2 separate regions of the Homo sapiens genome follow, and region 2 is linked to region 1. The links are contacts of gene promoters, found by promoter capture Hi-C in blood cells and fetal thymus (Javierre and others, 2016). All regions are on one chromosome and are shown on one strand. The core of a region is centred on a gene start or on the middle of the fragment in contact, and the rest is flanking DNA. Distances in the headings are between cores, read along the strand shown.

What was found. The method cuts DNA at HindIII sites, captures the fragments that hold promoters and counts their contacts. A CHiCAGO score of 5 or more calls a contact.
Region 2: a contact is called between a fragment that was not itself captured here and the fragment with the promoter of PCDHB6 in region 1, in 1 of 17 cell types (M0 macrophages). The highest score is 5.6, in M0 macrophages.

The regions. Positions count from the first base shown.
Region 1 is chr5:141,148,232-141,151,855 of GRCh38, forward strand. It overlaps PCDHB6 (protocadherin beta 6), which reads left to right and starts at 1,826. Exons shown (of 1, transcript NM_018939.4): 1 at 1,826-3,624. The coding sequence starts at 2,027. It also overlaps PCDHB@. The HindIII fragment of the contact is 6,099 bases long and covers 1-3,624 here.
Region 2 is chr5:140,891,221-140,894,844 of GRCh38, forward strand. The region is part of intron 1 of PCDHA1 (protocadherin alpha 1); the gene reads left to right. All of the region lies in intron 1 of PCDHA2 (protocadherin alpha 2), which reads left to right. All of the region lies in intron 1 of PCDHA3 (protocadherin alpha 3), which reads left to right. The region is part of intron 1 of PCDHA4 (protocadherin alpha 4); the gene reads left to right. It also overlaps PCDHA5, PCDHA6, PCDHA7, PCDHA8, PCDHA9 and PCDHA10, and 4 more genes. Among named protein-coding and RNA genes, the nearest start is that of PCDHA13, 11 kb to the left of the region's middle. The HindIII fragment of the contact is 1,307 bases long and covers 1,181-2,487 here.

The DNA of each region.
Region 1 (3,624 bases), core at 576-3,075:
ACAGAGAAACATTCTCCTGAAACAATCTAACGTAATCCATTTTCTATAAAAAGGCAGTTTCTTGATAGACCCAACTGATATCTTTTTGGGGTACTTTGAGCTATTATCCTCTTTCTATATAACTACCAATGTTATCAAAGACATTTCAAGGATCTAAATGGAGTTTGACAAATACTGTACTGCTGATAAATTTGCTCTGACGTAAAAAAATAATTCAACAACCTATATTCGAGGATGCCTGGTGGTGCTTCAGAGAAACAGAGTGAATAAAAGACTTTGTGGATGCCGTTAAGCTGGAATCAGAACTCAGAATGCTCACCGAAAGAAGGAAGCATTTAAGATTGAGCAGGAAATAATGGCCTTGTTTCAGCAAAGAGATGACACCAGTCCAATATGTTTATTATTGTTGGTTTATTTCATAATTTCATTTTGTTACATTCTCAAGGAACAGTGTGTTCCCAGTAGCATCTATCAAGTGAACCCTGGAGGCTGGTCACATTCATAATCTTTTGTTTTTCTGGCTACATAGAGGTGATTTTGAACTACAAGATCATCTCAGCTATTCAGAGTTTAGATTTTATTTAGCCTTATTTGTTTTGCCTAGCATTTATGTATTTGAAAATATCTTGATTTTTAATCTTCTATCACCTTGGCCCTTACCTGAAGTGAACTTTGTTTGAACTCAATTGATTTCACCTCTCAATAAATATGAAATTAATCTGAAATGAATTGAATTGTTTGGCATATTTTACCTCTTCTATGTGCACTAATCTATTTCACACATTTTCAGTTTGTTTAGAGATACATGTTCCAATGTATCTGAGTAGAAACTAGTGAGATGGGAATGGATATAGCCATAATATTCCATCATTGAATTCCATGGCATTCACTCAAATGTAACTCACCTGTTTTAACAGTACCTTAATTTGGCCTGTATTTATTGGACTTGGTGTTCTTTTTGCTGTGAGAAGACGGTGAAGGTGATTCTTGAATGTTTGTTTTCTGTGTTGCATCATGTTTGTACAACACGGTAATATATTTGGACCTTGATTAAATAATGTAAGAGGGGAATTTGATCAAAAAATAAAATGCACAAGACTGTTAAAACAATGTCTAATTCTATCCATGCAAAAATGGAGTAGAATCCTAAAATGCTTATGACAACTACTTGATTGCTTCTAGTCCCTCTTTTAAATACTTTAATTTACTTAGATACATGTATCATACGTACTTCTTGGCCTCAGTTTTCCTCCTAATAGCCTAATTGTTCTTTTTACTGTGCAGGCATAACTATATAACAAAGTAGGTTTTTTTTTTCATGCCATTTATGAGTCATATAATTTAGATAATTTATTGTTTATTTTACCATTATTGTTGCTAACAAACTTCGTTGTTTTGCATTGTTTGTTGGGACAATTAAATAGTGTACCTCTTGGACTAATAGATTAAATAGTTCATCAGAGATAAATTGCACTGCTGAAGCATCAAAGGAGAAAGACTGAAGTGTAGAATCTGCACTTCAATCTTTCTCCTTAATTAGCACCACCAGGGAATTTGATTCAAGTTCTAGAGGGGAGTGAACCCAGGAATTGGCTTAAAAACAAAAACATACACACAAAAAAACCAACGCTCGCAAGCAATTATTTATGCATGCGGTCCACGCACTCAGTTTGAGAAACACTGACTCGACTTAAAAGTCTTTATAATGCTCAGATTTCTGAAATGCTATTGACCTGAAAACATCTCATGAAGTTATTAGTTTGAACGCGTGGTGGCGGTACAAGCTAAGAGAGTGAATGAAAGCTCTGCAGACTCGGTGGACTCCGTTTCATCCAGAAGCCAAGTAAAAATACAGACCACGTTTACAGCTAAAGCTGAGATAGATGTGTCCGGGAAGGCAGTCGTCGCCAGACAAGTTGTAAGAACGAATTTAAAAATCTCTGCAAAGACATCCGAGAGGGTCGACGGTAGATGTGGTGATTGGGAGCTGAAAAGGATTTTTCTTCCGTATTCAGACATAATAGACATGATGCAAACTAAAGTACAGAACAAGAAAAGGCAAGTGGCTTTCTTCATTTTATTGATGCTTTGGGGAGAGGTGGGTTCTGAATCGATTCAGTATTCCGTATTGGAGGAGACAGAAAGTGGCACGTTTGTGGCCAACTTGACAAAGGACCTGGGACTGAGGGTGGGGGAGCTGGCTTCGCGGGGCGCTCGGGTTGTTTTCAAAGGGAACAGACAACATTTGCAGTTTGATCCACAGACCCATGATTTACTGCTAAATGAAAAACTGGACCGGGAGGAGCTGTGTGGCTCCACTGAGCCGTGTGTGCTACCTTTCCAAGTGTTACTGGAAAACCCCTTGCAGTTTTTTCAGGCTTCCTTGCGAGTCAGAGATATAAATGACCACGCCCCGGAATTCCCTGCCAGAGAAATGCTCCTGAAAATATCAGAAATTACTATGCCAGGAAAGATATTTCCTTTGAAAATGGCACACGATTTAGACACCGGCAGCAACGGCCTTCAGAGGTACACAATCAGCTCCAACCCTCACTTCCACGTTCTCACCCGCAATCGCAGCGAAGGCAGGAAGTTCCCGGAGCTGGTGCTAGACAAACCGTTGGACCGCGAGGAGCAGCCCCAACTCAGGCTAACGCTGATCGCGCTGGATGGCGGGTCTCCGCCCCGGTCAGGGACCTCCGAGATTCAGATCCAGGTTTTGGACATCAATGACAACGTCCCCGAGTTTGCTCAGGAGCTCTATGAAGCACAAGTCCCTGAGAACAACCCCCTCGGCTCTCTGGTTATTACCGTCTCAGCCAGAGATTTAGATGCAGGATCGTTTGGGAAGGTATCTTACGCCCTGTTTCAAGTCGATGACGTCAACCAACCCTTCGAAATAAACGCAATCACAGGAGAAATTCGGCTGAGAAAGGCTTTGGATTTTGAGGAAATTCAGTCTTATGACGTGGATGTTGAGGCTACAGATGGTGGAGGCCTATCAGGAAAATGCTCTTTAGTCGTCAGGGTCCTGGACGTGAATGACAATGCCCCTGAACTCACCATGTCGTTCTTCATCAGCCTCATCCCAGAAAACTTACCAGAGATCACAGTGGCAGTTTTCAGTGTTTCAGATGCAGACTCTGGACATAACCAACAGGTTATTTGTTCAATAGAGAACAATCTCCCCTTTCTACTAAGACCTTCCGTGGAGAATTTCTACACCCTGGTAACAGAAGGCGCGCTGGACAGAGAGAGCAGAGCCGAGTACAACATCACTATCACGGTCACTGATTTGGGGACACCAAGGCTGAAAACCCAGCAGAGCATAACTGTGCAGGTCTCCGACGTCAATGACAACGCCCCCGCCTTCACCCAAACCTCCTACACCCTGTTCGTCCGCGAGAACAACAGCCCCGCCCTGCACATCGGCAGCGTCAGCGCCACAGACAGAGACTCAGGCATCAACGCCCAGGTCACCTACTCGCTGCTGCCGCCCCAGGACCCGCACCTGCCCCTCTCTTCCCTGGTCTCCATCAACGCGGACAACGGCCACCTGTTTGCCCTCAGGTCGCTGGACTACGAGGCCCTGCAGTCTTTCGAGTTCCGCGTGGGCGCCACAGA
Region 2 (3,624 bases), core at 584-3,083, 260 kb before region 1:
ATCATCCTGTTCTGGATTCAGTAGGATTTTTTTTAATTTTTAATTTTTCCGTAAGTTATTGGGGGTACAGGTGGTATTTGATTACATGAGTAAGTTCTTTGGTGGTGATTTGTGAGATTTTGGTGCATCCATCACCTGAGCAGTATACATTGCACCATATTTGCAATCTTTTATCCCTCGCCACCCCCCACTCTTGCCCCCAAGTCCCCAACGTCCATTGTATAGGATTTTTGAATTTGTGAATTAATGCCTTTACATCACTTTGAGCATATCCTCAGCTATAATGTTCTCCAATGTTGCTTCTGTTCCATTGTATTTCTATAGTATTATTTTAGTACTCTAATTAAACATATTTTAATCTTATTACTCTATCCCATCTATTTCTACCTTTTATTTTAACACCTTTTGCTCTTTGGGCTTTATTGTGGATAGTTCACCCACCTTAAAGTTTAATAATTCTCTCTTCTTGCTGTTGTCTGAATTTGTACCCCCAAATTCATGTGTTGAAAATTCAATCCCTTATACAACAGTGTTGGGAGGTGGGGAATTTCAGGAAATGTTTAGATTATGAGGGATCTGCCCTCATGAATAAATTAACGGCACTGTAAAAGGACTTGATGGAAGGAGCCTGTCCCTCTCTTATGCTTTTGGCTCTGTCATGTGACGATGCAGCAAGAAGATCTTCACCAGATGCTGGTGCCTTGATCTTGGACTTCCCCTAGGCTCCAGAATTGTGAGAAGTAAATTTCCGTTCTCATAAATTACTCAGTCTGTGGCATTCTGTTATAGCAGCACAAATGGTCTAAGATACTTTTATTTATTCTTTTTCAAATTTATTGTTACTTTGTATAATTTCTAGTTTCCTCTCGAAACTTTCAAGCTTGGCATTTATATCTGGAACACAATAAGCTCATGGTTTTAGCGTCTATTTCTGATATGTCCAGTAACTGGGATCCTCATGGGTCTATTCCTGTGGTGTGTTTTAAAATTGTATCTTTATGGTGTTTTGTCTCCACATAAACCTGGTTATCTTTGATTTTGTGCTGAAAGTTGTATTAAACACTTCTTCCTGGAAATAATTTGGGGCTTATAACATTTTCTTTCTCCAGAATGGATTTTAATTGACTTTTGCCAGGCATCTTGGGGCACTAGCAATCATGGGTAATCTTAATCTATTTCAAGCTTCAGGTATTCTAGATAAAACCTCATTATCTAAAATTTACATGTATTCTTTAAGTACGGTTATTCAGTTTCCTAGCCAAACATGAGAGATTGTTTAAGAAGTTCCACCATGACTGGTAGACTCAGGATTCTGACTTTTGTTTCTCTAGTCCTTGGAGACTGTCAAAAGTATATCTCAGTATTCATTCACCTATTTTTTTCCTTTTATTTCCAGTTGGTACATAATAATTGTACATATTTATAGGATACAGAGTGACATTTTGATACATATATACAATGTATAATAATAAAATCAGGGTAATTAGCATATTCATAATCTCAAACATTTACCATTTTTGCATGGTGAACATTTAAAATCCACTCTTCTAGCTTCTTGAAAATATGTAAGAAATTATAGTTAACCATATTTATCCTACAGTGCTACAGTGCTGCAAAACACCACAACCCATTCCTCCTGTGTAGCTATAATTTCGTATCCATTAACCAACCTTTCCCCATCCTCCTTTTCCTTCACCCTTCCCAGCCTCTGATAAGCACAATACTACTTCCATGAGCTCAATAAAATTTTGTAGCTGCCGTATAAGTGAGAACATGTATTTATTTTTCTGTGCCTGACTTATTTCACTTAACATATGCCCTCCAGGCTCAGCCATACTGCCATGAATAACAGGATTTCATTCTTTTTTATGGCTGGATAATATTCCGTTGTGCATATACACCACATTTTCTTTATCCACTCATCTGTTGATGGATATTGAGGTTGATTCCACATAGTAGCTATTGTGAATAGTGCTGCAGTAAGTATGGGAGGTGCAGGTATCACTTTGACATACTGGTTTCCTTTTCTTTGGATAAATGCCCAATAGTGGAATTGCTGGATGATATGGTAGTTCTATTTGTAGTTTTTTGAGGGACTCCCATACTGTTTTCCTTAGTGGCAGTGCTAATTTACATGCCCACCAACAGCATTTATGGGACAGTGGCTCATGCCTGTAATCCCAGCACTTAGGGAGGCAGAGGCAGGAAGATCGCTTGAAGCCAGGAGTTCAAGACCAGCCTGGGCAACATAGCAAGACCCTGTTCTTCACAAAAAAGAAAAAAAAAGCAGTTGTAGAACTCCTTTAAGTATTTCTTGTAGGACTTATCTAGTTGTAGTGTACTTCCTCAGTTTTTGCTTGTTTGGGAAATACTTTATTTCTCCTTCATTTCTGAAGTATAGCTCTGCTTGGTATAGTATTTTTGGCTGATAGTTTTAAAAAATTTCAGCACTTTGGATATATCATCTCATTCTATCCTAGCCTGTAAAGCTTCTGCTGAGAAATCTGCTGTTAGTCTGATGGGAATTTTCTTATAGGTGACTTGTCACTTTTCTTTTACCGTTTTTAGAATTCCCTCCTTGTCTTGAGTCTGGTACCGTAGACTACTCAGCCATCCTGATGCCCTACCTCTTGTATAGAAACAACCCAGATCCAAAGTGGCCAGAAAGTTACTTTACCTTCTGAATTTGTGGTCTTTTTCAGAATCTCTACCTGTTAATTCTGCATGACTTTATTAGTCATTAGATACTTTTATAATTTTAAAATATCTCCAATTGTATGGTTGGTTCAAATTACCAGTTCTGCATACTGGTAATGTAAGTCCTCTGTTGAATTGATTTTTAAATACATTTATTTTATTCCAGTATCTTCTAGCTCCTGGTGTTGCAGATGAGAAGTTTCAAATAACTTGAAATAATTCCCTTCTATGTAATTATCCCTGATTTTGACTTTCTTTCCATAGTTATATATTTTTTCTATGCTATTATATTCTCATTTTAAAGATGTTGAATGACAATGTAATTTTCTTTTCTTTACAAGTGGTAGCTTATTTACAAGTATTTTTGAAGTTTATTTTCCTGGAAAGTTTTCTTAAATTATAGATTTTAGTATTTCTTCTGTTTTATTACTTCAGATTTCTTCTTCAATGGCTCCAATTATATTTGTATTAGATATTCTTTGCTTTTCTTTTGTAGCTAACACTCCTAAATCCTACCTAGCTCTTTTTTAAAAAATATTTTACTTTTTATTCTTGTTTTCATCTTATAGTTTTCTTTAGGCATTATCCATAGTGTTTATATGCTGTTATGTGCCTTCTGGTTTAGTGTTTACTTCTGAAAAAATTATTTTCCTTTTTTTTAATATTTTACTGAGTTTTCTCATCTCTCTTTTCAAAGCTTTTCTTCTCCAATCATATCATTACTGAGTCTCTCTAATTCTGATTTGTGTATTCTTGCATAGCTTTTCATTATTTTCTAAAAATGTTTAAGTTGTTTTCAAATATTACGTAGCAATTTGTGGAATTTTTTTTCTTGTGTGTATTTATTTCCTTTAGTGTAATTATTTGTCCTCTCCTTTAAAAATAATTTTATATCAGATTTGCCCATAATCCTTTTCTTATGCTCAT